Regions from separate parts of the Homo sapiens genome. Here regions 1 and 3 are each linked to region 2. Evidence: promoter capture Hi-C in human tissues and cell types (Jung and others, 2019). All regions are on one chromosome and are shown on one strand. Each heading gives the region's core, a stretch centred on a gene start or on the middle of the fragment in contact. The rest is flanking DNA. Distances are from core to core; before and after follow the strand shown.

The links. The method cuts DNA at HindIII sites, captures the fragments that hold promoters and counts their contacts. A contact is called where the count stands out against the background at its distance.
Region 1: a contact is called between the fragment with the promoter of TMIGD2 here and the fragment with the promoter of CREB3L3 in region 2, in 4 of the 25 tissues and cell types used here (dorsolateral prefrontal cortex, lymphoblastoid cells, mesenchymal stem cells and 1 more).
Region 3: a fragment that was not itself captured here is called in contact with the fragment with the promoter of CREB3L3 in region 2 in 4 of the 25 tissues and cell types used here (dorsolateral prefrontal cortex, mesenchymal stem cells, psoas muscle and 1 more).

Annotation. Positions count from the first base shown.
Region 1 is chr19:4,301,065-4,303,764 of GRCh38, forward strand. It overlaps TMIGD2 (transmembrane and immunoglobulin domain containing 2), which reads right to left and starts at 1,325. Exons shown (of 5, transcript NM_001169126.2): 1 at 1,276-1,325. The coding sequence starts at 1,321. RefSeq lists an enhancer at 786-1,331. The HindIII fragment of the contact is 29,023 bases long and covers 1-2,700 here.
Region 2 is chr19:4,152,281-4,154,980 of GRCh38, forward strand. It overlaps CREB3L3 (cAMP responsive element binding protein 3 like 3), which reads left to right and starts at 1,351. Exons shown (of 10, transcript NM_032607.3): 1 at 1,351-1,494; 2 at 2,619-2,700. The coding sequence starts at 1,468. The HindIII fragment of the contact is 37,156 bases long and covers 1-2,700 here.
Region 3 is chr19:4,365,632-4,368,331 of GRCh38, forward strand. It overlaps SH3GL1 (SH3 domain containing GRB2 like 1, endophilin A2), which reads right to left. Exons shown (of 10, transcript NM_003025.4): 2 at 1,295-1,363; 3 at 870-942. Among named protein-coding and RNA genes, the nearest start is that of MPND, 23 kb to the left of the region's middle. RefSeq lists an enhancer at 291-1,212. The HindIII fragment of the contact is 3,201 bases long and covers 1-2,700 here.

The sequences.
Region 1 (2,700 bases), core at 75-2,574, 150 kb after region 2:
CAGGTTCAAGTGATTCTTGTGGCTCAGCCTCTTGAGTAGCTGGGACTACAGGCACTCGCTACCACGCCCAGCTAATTTTTGTATTTTTGGTAGAGATGGGGTTTCACCAACATGGCCAGGCTGGTCTGGAACTCCTGACCTCAAGTGATCCACCTGCCTCAGTCTCCAATTTAAGTTTTAATAAAAAGACCTTGGTTGGGTGTGGTGGCTCATGCCTGTTATCCCAGCCCTTTGGGTGGCCAAGACTGGGTGATTGCTTGAGGCCAGGAGTTCAAGACCAGCCTGGGCAACATAGTGAGACCCATCTCTAAAAAACAAAAATGACTGGGCACGGTGGCTCACGCCTGTAATCCCAGCACTTTGGGAGGCCAAGGTGGGTGGATCATGAGGTCAGGAGTTCGAGACCCACCTGGCCGAGATGGCGAAACCCCGTCTCTACTAAAAATACAAAAAAAATTAGCCAGGCGCAGTGGCGCGCGCCTGCAGTCCCAGCTACTCGGGAGCCTGAGGCAGGAGAATCTCTTGAACCTGGGAGGCAGAGGTTGCAGTCAACCGAGATCGCGTCACTGCACTCTAGCCTGGGTGACAGAGCAAGACTCCTTCTCAAAACAAAACAAAACAAACAAACAAAAAAACACAAATGAACAACAAAAAAGTGCAAGCGGCTGGAATCAGAGGAGAGGGAAAGAGGAATGGAGGTTTTCGCCCCAGGAAATGTGTGAAGGGCAGCAGCCTTTGTCCTTAATTGGAAACACAGAGGGAGCTGCTGCCGGAGTAGAAAGTCTGCTTTTAGCTGTGAGAAGTCTGACGTGTCTGTTAGACCCCCGGAGAAGTTGAGGTTATGTGAAGTTCCTGGCATTTGAGATGCAATTGCAGAGGAGGGTAGAGACATGAGATCTGGAGAAGGGTATTAGGCAGCTGGAACAGCAGGTGCAAAGGCTCGAAGGCCAGATCCAGCCTTCCCATTGCGGAAACAGAGAAAGAAAAGTCCCCAGGCTAGAGCAAGAGGGAGGGAGCAAAGGCACTGCGGAGGGTGGAGATGAGAGAGGCCAGGCCAGGCTGGTATGTAGGGCAAGGTTTAGATTGTATCCTAGGGGCCCTCAGAGGATCCTTCCTTAATCCTCCAGCCCCCATCACGTTCTGAGTCTCGGAGGGAGATGGGCCTTATCTGACAGTAGAGAGACTGAAGTTTAGAGGGGCCCTGAGCTGGGGGGCAGGCAGCTGGGGATGACAGCAAGAGTGGGGTTCAGAGGGGAGGGAGGCCCAGATACTCACCCCAGATCTGCACCAGGAGGCCCAGCACCATGCCCGGGGACCCCATTCCTGGCCCATCACCCCCCTCTCCCCCTCCCAGTTGACAGACTTCCTGCCACAATCTCCGCCTCCCGCTGCAGAAGCAGATGCAACACCCAGGGCCAGACAACAGACGTCCGGTGTTCCAGCCTGCTGGGGGCTCCACTTCCTGCCACCTCGTGCCTCAGTTTCCCCAATGCATTTTCTATCTGAAAGGCAGTGTACGGACCAGGCAACATGGCTCATGTCTGTAATCCCAGCACTTTGGGAGGCCGAGGCAGGTGGATCACCTGAGGTCAGGAGTTCGAGACCAGCTTGGCCAACATGATGAAACCCCTACTAATTTCTACTAAAAATACAGAAATTAGCTGGACATGGTGATGGGCGCCTATAATCCCAGCTACTTGGGAGGCTGAGGCAGGAGAATGGCTTAAACCCGGGAGGCGGAGGTTGCAGTGAGCCAAGATCACGCCACTGCACTCCAGCCTGGGCGACAAGAGTGAAACTCCGTCTCAGAAAAAAAGAAAAGAAAGGCAGTGTATGCAAGTGAGTGGGAGGAATCCACCCCTGTGAGCTTTCTGGAAGGCTCTACATAAACACATCTAGGTACAGGAAGACACAGTGCGAGAGCAGGTGGCTCCGTGGGGGAGGGGCAGGCGACATAGGCCTGAGCAGTGAGTTAAATGACAGGGTCCCTGCCTCAATTATTTTGCTCCCAAAATGTCTTTCTTTTGCTGGGCGCTGTAGCTCACACCTGTAATCCCAGCACTTTGTGAGGCTGAGGTGGGAGGATCACTTGAGCCGAGTTTAAGATCAACCTGGGGTAACACAGCGAGATCCAATCTCTATTAAAAAAAAAAAAAAAAAAAAAAAGATACAGGCTGGGCATGGTGGCCCAGGCCTGTAATCCCAGCACTTTGGGAGGCCAAGGCGGGTGGATCACCTGAGGTCAGGAGTTCAAGACCAGCCTAGCCAACATGGCAAAACCCGGTCTCTACTAAAAATACAAAAATTAGCTGGGCCTAGTGGTGGGCGCCTGTAGTCCCAGCTACTCAGTGGGGTTGAGGCAGGAGAATCGCCAGAACTGGGGAGATGGAGATTACAGGGAGCCGAGATCCTGCCACTGCACTCCAGCCTGGGCGACAGAGTGAGACTGTGTCTCAAAAAAAAAAAAAAAGATACAAAACCAACCCAGGGTGATGGTGCATGCCTATAGTCCCAGCCACTCGGGAGGCTGAGGCAGGAGAACCGCTTGAGCCCAGGAGTTGGAGGCTGCAGTAAGCCATGATTGCGCCCCGTTACTCCAGCCTGGGCAACAGAGTGAGTCCGTCTCTAAAAAAAAATAATAATAATAATTTAAAAAATCTTCCTTTGAGGTTCAGAGAAATAGATTTCTGTTGATAACTT
Region 2 (2,700 bases), core at 101-2,600:
AAATCCAGCACTTTGGGAGGCTGAAGCAGGTGGATCATTTGAGCCCAGGAGTTTGAGACCATACTGGCCAACACAGTAAGACCCCATCTCTATAAAAAAAAAAAAACAAAATTAGCCAGGTGTGGTGGTGCACGCCTGCAGTCCTAGCTACTTGGGAGGCTGAGACGGGAGGATCACTTGAACCCAGGAGTTGGAGGCTGCAGTGAGCTATGATCCTGCCACTGCACTCCAGCCTGGGCAATAGAGTGAGACCCTGTCCTCCACCAACACCAAAAAAAAAAACAAAAAAACAAAACAGGGCTCCTCTCTCTTGGTAGGGGGTGGAGGGGAGGTCAGAGACACCTCTCAGCCACCCGGGCTGATTCACAAATATCGAACATTCACTAAAATGTCAATACAGTGACCTAGAGCCAGAGGGGAAGAGGGAGGGTACAAGAGGAGAGTTCCAGGCAGAGGGGCGAGCAGGTGAGTAGGTGCAAAGGCCCTAAGCAGGAACCAGTTTGGCTCCATAAATATTTGTTGACTCAATGAACGATAGAAGATTCTAGAGAGAATTGATTGCACAGAATCACCCATGGGGACTCAGAGGCGGAGTCCAAGCTGGTTTCGGAGGGGGCTGGGGGCCGGAGGTTGGCAGGTGGGGTGAAGGATGGGAGCCGCTAGCTGCTGGCAGGAAAACTGGCTTCAGTGAAGATCTGGTCTGGTCCTCTTGGTTTGTTTCTGTCCAGGGAGTGGACAGGACCCATGTAAGGGCCCTGGGCTATCCCAGAACCCATCTGGGAATTCTGAAGAGAAAAAGTCCTGTAACTGGCCGGGTGCGGTGGCTCACGCCTGTAATCCCCGCACTTTGGGAGACTGAGGGGCCGATCACGAGGTCAGGAGTTCGAGACCAGCCTGGAAAACATGATGAAACCTCGTCTCTACTAAAAATACAAAAGTTAGCCGGGCATGGTGATGGGGACCTGTAGTCCCAGCTACTCGGGAGGCTGAGGCAGGAGAATCACTTGAACCCAAGAGGCAGAGGTTGCAGTGAGCCGAAATGAGATGGCACCACTGCACTCCAGCTTGGGCCACAGAGCGAGACTCCGTCTCAAAAAAGAAAGAAAAAAAGAAAAAGTCCTCATAAGTAGGGCAGAGGTCACGGCAGAGTGGAGGTACCCCAGACTTCGACCTTTGCTCACTGAGGGCTGGAAAACCACAAAACACCCAGATAACGGTCTTCCCTCCCCTGCTCCTGCCTGCCCCAGTGTCACTGGCCCTCAACCCTGTCTCTCCACCCTGTCCACCAATCAGCACCTGGAGGTGGGCTGGGAGCTGCCTGTGACCGCTTCAGCATCTTTTGGGAGTGGTGACAGAGCCACAGAGGGCTGTGAGCTTGCCCGGCCCCAGGTAACGCTGGCGGTGGGTGGGCCTCCAGCTTGGAGCAGAGACCCCCCGAGGCATCTGCAGACAGAACTGGATGGACCCATGAATACGGATTTAGCTGCTGGAAAGGTGAGCCCTACTAGGTCCCCAGGGAGAGCGGGAGTCTAGGCTGGGAAAGCCTACCCAAGCTGCCAGAGCTGGAAGGACCCCATCTCCACCCCTATTGTACAGATGGGAAGACTGAGGCCCAGAGAAAGGATGCAATGAGCAAAACTGTGTGCCTTTGCCCCGGGGCTGCCCTTGTCTTTCTTCCAGGTCCCCCTGCCTCCTAGGAGCGGGCACTTGGGGAGGCTGTGAAGGCCTGAGAGGCAAGCGGCATCTCTAGCTAGGGCCTCTCTCCAGCACTTTTTATTTTATTTTATTTTATTTTTATTTTTATTTTTTGAGATGGAGTCTCCCTCTGTCACCCAGGCTAGAGTGCAATGGCACGATCTCAGCTCACTGCAACTTCCACCTCCTGGGTTCAAGAGATCTTCCTGCCTCAGCCTCCCAAGTAGTTGGGATTACAGGTGTGCACCACCACGCCCGGCTAATTTTTGTACTTTTCCTAGAGACAGGGTTTCACCATGTTGGCTAGGCTGGTCTCAAACTCCTGACTTCAGGTGAGCTGCCCGCCTCGGCTTCCCAGAGTGCTGGGATTACAGATGTGAGCCACCGTGCCTGCCATACTTTTTTGTTTTTTGAAACAAGGTCTTGCTCTGTGACCCAGGGTGGAGTGCAGTGGGGTGGCCATAGCTCACTGCAGCCTCAACCTCCTGGGTTCAAGGGATCCTCCTACCTCAGCCTCCCCAGTAGCTGGGACGACAAGTGTGTGCCACCGCAGCCAGCTAATTTTTTTAAATTATTTGCAGTAGGGATAGGGGTCTCTATGTTGCGCAGGCTGGTCTTGAACTCCTGGGCTCAAGTGATCCTCCTGCCCCGGCCTCCCAAAGTGCTGAGATTACAGGCATGAGCCACCACATCCAGCCTCTCCAGCACTTTAAGAGAAATTGGCTCTCACACTGTGGAATTCTCTCTATCAGCCTCAAAGTCCAGATTTGGAAAGGGAGTCTCAGCGAGGGGCAGCAGCTGGCCCAACCCGGAGGCAGAGCGGCAACTGAACTCTAGCCGGAAAGAGCCAGGGTTATGTGCACATGGGAGGTGGGGAGGACAGGGGCTGTATGTGACCCTCACATCTGTTCCTCGCGCCCCAGATGGCTTCTGCTGCCTGCTCCATGGACCCCATCGACAGCTTTGAGCTCCTGGATCTCCTGTTTGACCGGCAGGACGGCATCC
Region 3 (2,700 bases), core at 85-2,584, 210 kb after region 2:
TAGGATGGCCAGGTGGGTGTGGGCTGTGAGGCCTGCACTCCTCTGCCCTGGCAGACTGCAGCCCCCACATCTCCTCCCCACCCTTGCTTCCTGTGCCTGTGGACAGCCTAGGCCACACAAAGCACAGTGGAATCCCCAGAGGGTCCCTTCCCTGCTCCTGCTAGCCTCAAAGGAGCTGGCAGCGGGTGGAGAGGTGACCAAGCTCCTCAGGGGGCAAAACCTCCTCCTTCCAAGGGCTGCTCCTCTTGGAACGTGGCTATGACCCCTCATCTGGGGGGTGCCAGGGAGGAGGCGCAGCAGTGATGTGCAGCGGGGGGTGGTTGAGGCCAAGGCTCCCGGGGTGGGTGATGAGCTGTGTCCCTTCCGCTGCCCGCTTGGGTCTGCTCCTGGCAGGGCCTGAGTGGACACTGCTGGGTGTGCGTCTGCCCCCTGTCCGTGGCCTCCTATGGAGCCAGCATTTGGGTTTTCCTTGGGGAAAAGCCCGTCTCTCAGCCAGGGAGACCCAGTCCCAAGCCCAAGAGGTGAAGTCCAGGCCAGGGGCACTGGGGAGGGGCGGCCAATACAAATGGATCCCACAAGTAAGCTGGGGGAGAGGCTCCCTGCCAGGACTGCTGGCTGGAAGAGGGGTTGAAGGCTGGGACGGCCCTGAGGAACCAGTCGGCATGAGAGTGAAGCCAACAGAGGGGCTGAGCTGCTGGTTGAGGTGGAAAGGCAGCATGCAGCACCAAGGATGGCCTCTGCACTCCGGGATCCAGCTGTGCCTGAAGCCCACAACCCATGAGCCTGGCGGTTCTGTCATCCCCTGCCTTCCCTCTGACACAGAGGCCAGAGGGCCTGGGGCAGGCCCTGGCAGTGGCTGGAGCACCCACCTGGGTTGGGCTGCAGGTACTCGATGGTCCTGGCCAGCACTTCTGTCACCGCCTTGCTGGTGACATCCACCTTCTGTGAAGAGAAGCAGCATATAAGACTCCACAGCCAGTGGGGGCCCAAGGCACACAAGACCCCCGCTGCTGCACCGCCTCCTGCCCTAAGAGCCCATACCAGGACCCCCCAACCCCCTCTCCATGTCTTCAGCTCAGCCATGTCCCCACAGCTGCCTGCCCACGGCAGGGGAGAGAGCTGGTGCCCGTCAAGTCCAGCTGACGAGGCCCCCACACCACCCCATCTCTCCACACCTGCCGGGCCCCATCACTCCAGACCCAGGCCCATCAAGGTTGGCCGCCTCCACTATGCCCGGCAGAGGTCAGGCCCCAGCAGTGCCACCACCACACAGAGCACGCAGTTTCTTCCTCACCTTCTCCATCTCTTTGAAGTCATCATCCAGCTTGGTCCCCTCGGCCCCTCCGACCTTCTCACTGACCAGCTAGAGGACAGAAGAGGGGAAACGCTGTGAGCCCAGGGGTAGGAGGAAGAAGAGGACAGGAGGCCCTGAGCCGCCTTCCAGCCACATCGCATCCACAGCTGGAGGCAGGAGGCCAAGTGATCAGGACACACACCTCAGGCACTGCCGTGGGCACCCCAGGGCCACACGCTGCCTGCAGAGCAGGGTGGGCCTGCAGGGGGAGGGGGAGGGTGGGGGTGGCCTGCCCACCTGTGTGTGTCCCGACTGCCACTCACATACCCACTGGGGACCCTGCCACAGTAGGCCCCATCTGGGCCACGGTGGAGTCCAGAGCCTCAGCCTGAGAACACATGGCTCAGAAGACACTGCTTCCAGAAGCGCCTACACAAACATCCCCACAGATAGCAATGTGGGGATCTGCCCCCATCCTTGAGTATGTGGGGTCTACTTAAAAAAAAAAATCCTGCCAGCTTGGCTGGGAGAGGCAGCAGGAGCTGACAGTTACGAGAAGAGGTGCAGGCAGCCGGGCAGGGAGGCCGCCATTCTCCTGTGCTCTGGTGCCCGTGTCTGCAGGATGGGACAGCCCAGCCCTTGCCCCATGTGGACACTGAGTTTCACAAGGCAGTCAACACAGGCCTGGCACACCTTGGTCCTCACGGCTCTCAGCTACGGTGAAAGCGATGACAATGACAGGCACTTACAGCGTCTTTCCTCGTGTGGTGGGAAGGCAGAAGCAAGCACTGAATTCCCAAACCACTCCCTCTGACAGCGCCTGGGATGCGAAAAACAGCCCTGAAATGTCCCATGGAACATGGCGGGAACCACTGAACCCCAGCACCGCTGTCTGAGCACAGGCGTTGCTTTCTTCACCCCACGTATCCCATGTGTGCCTGGCGCCAAGGGATGCCGCACAGAGTGAGGATGGACAGTGTGAGGCCCTTCCCAGCACACAGCGCTTCATGAAGAGCCGAGTGGCTGCCAGGCCCTGCCACAAATGGAGGCTCCCAGAGGGAGGCCGCCTGAGGTCACAAGCTTGGCCCTGCCCTCTGGGGGCCAAGTGTCACAGGGTGTGCCATCTCTGAAGTCATCGGCAAATTTAACATCCCGGGTCTGATCACTTGTGTGAAGACGTGCACACACGGCCTGGGCAGGAGAGTGAGGTGTTGCGTGCCGTGGGCCATGGCCTGTGCCCCTGGTGCTCCCCAGGTCTGATTGGTGCTTGCCTGCCCCGAGCTGTCACAAGACGTGGCCAAGGGATGCCATGAGGGTCCGTGTGGTGCCACACTGCGTTGGCTGTGTGGGGCTGGGGGGTGTCCAGCAGGGCAGTCAGGAGTTTAGGACCCAGCCTGGGAGGAAGT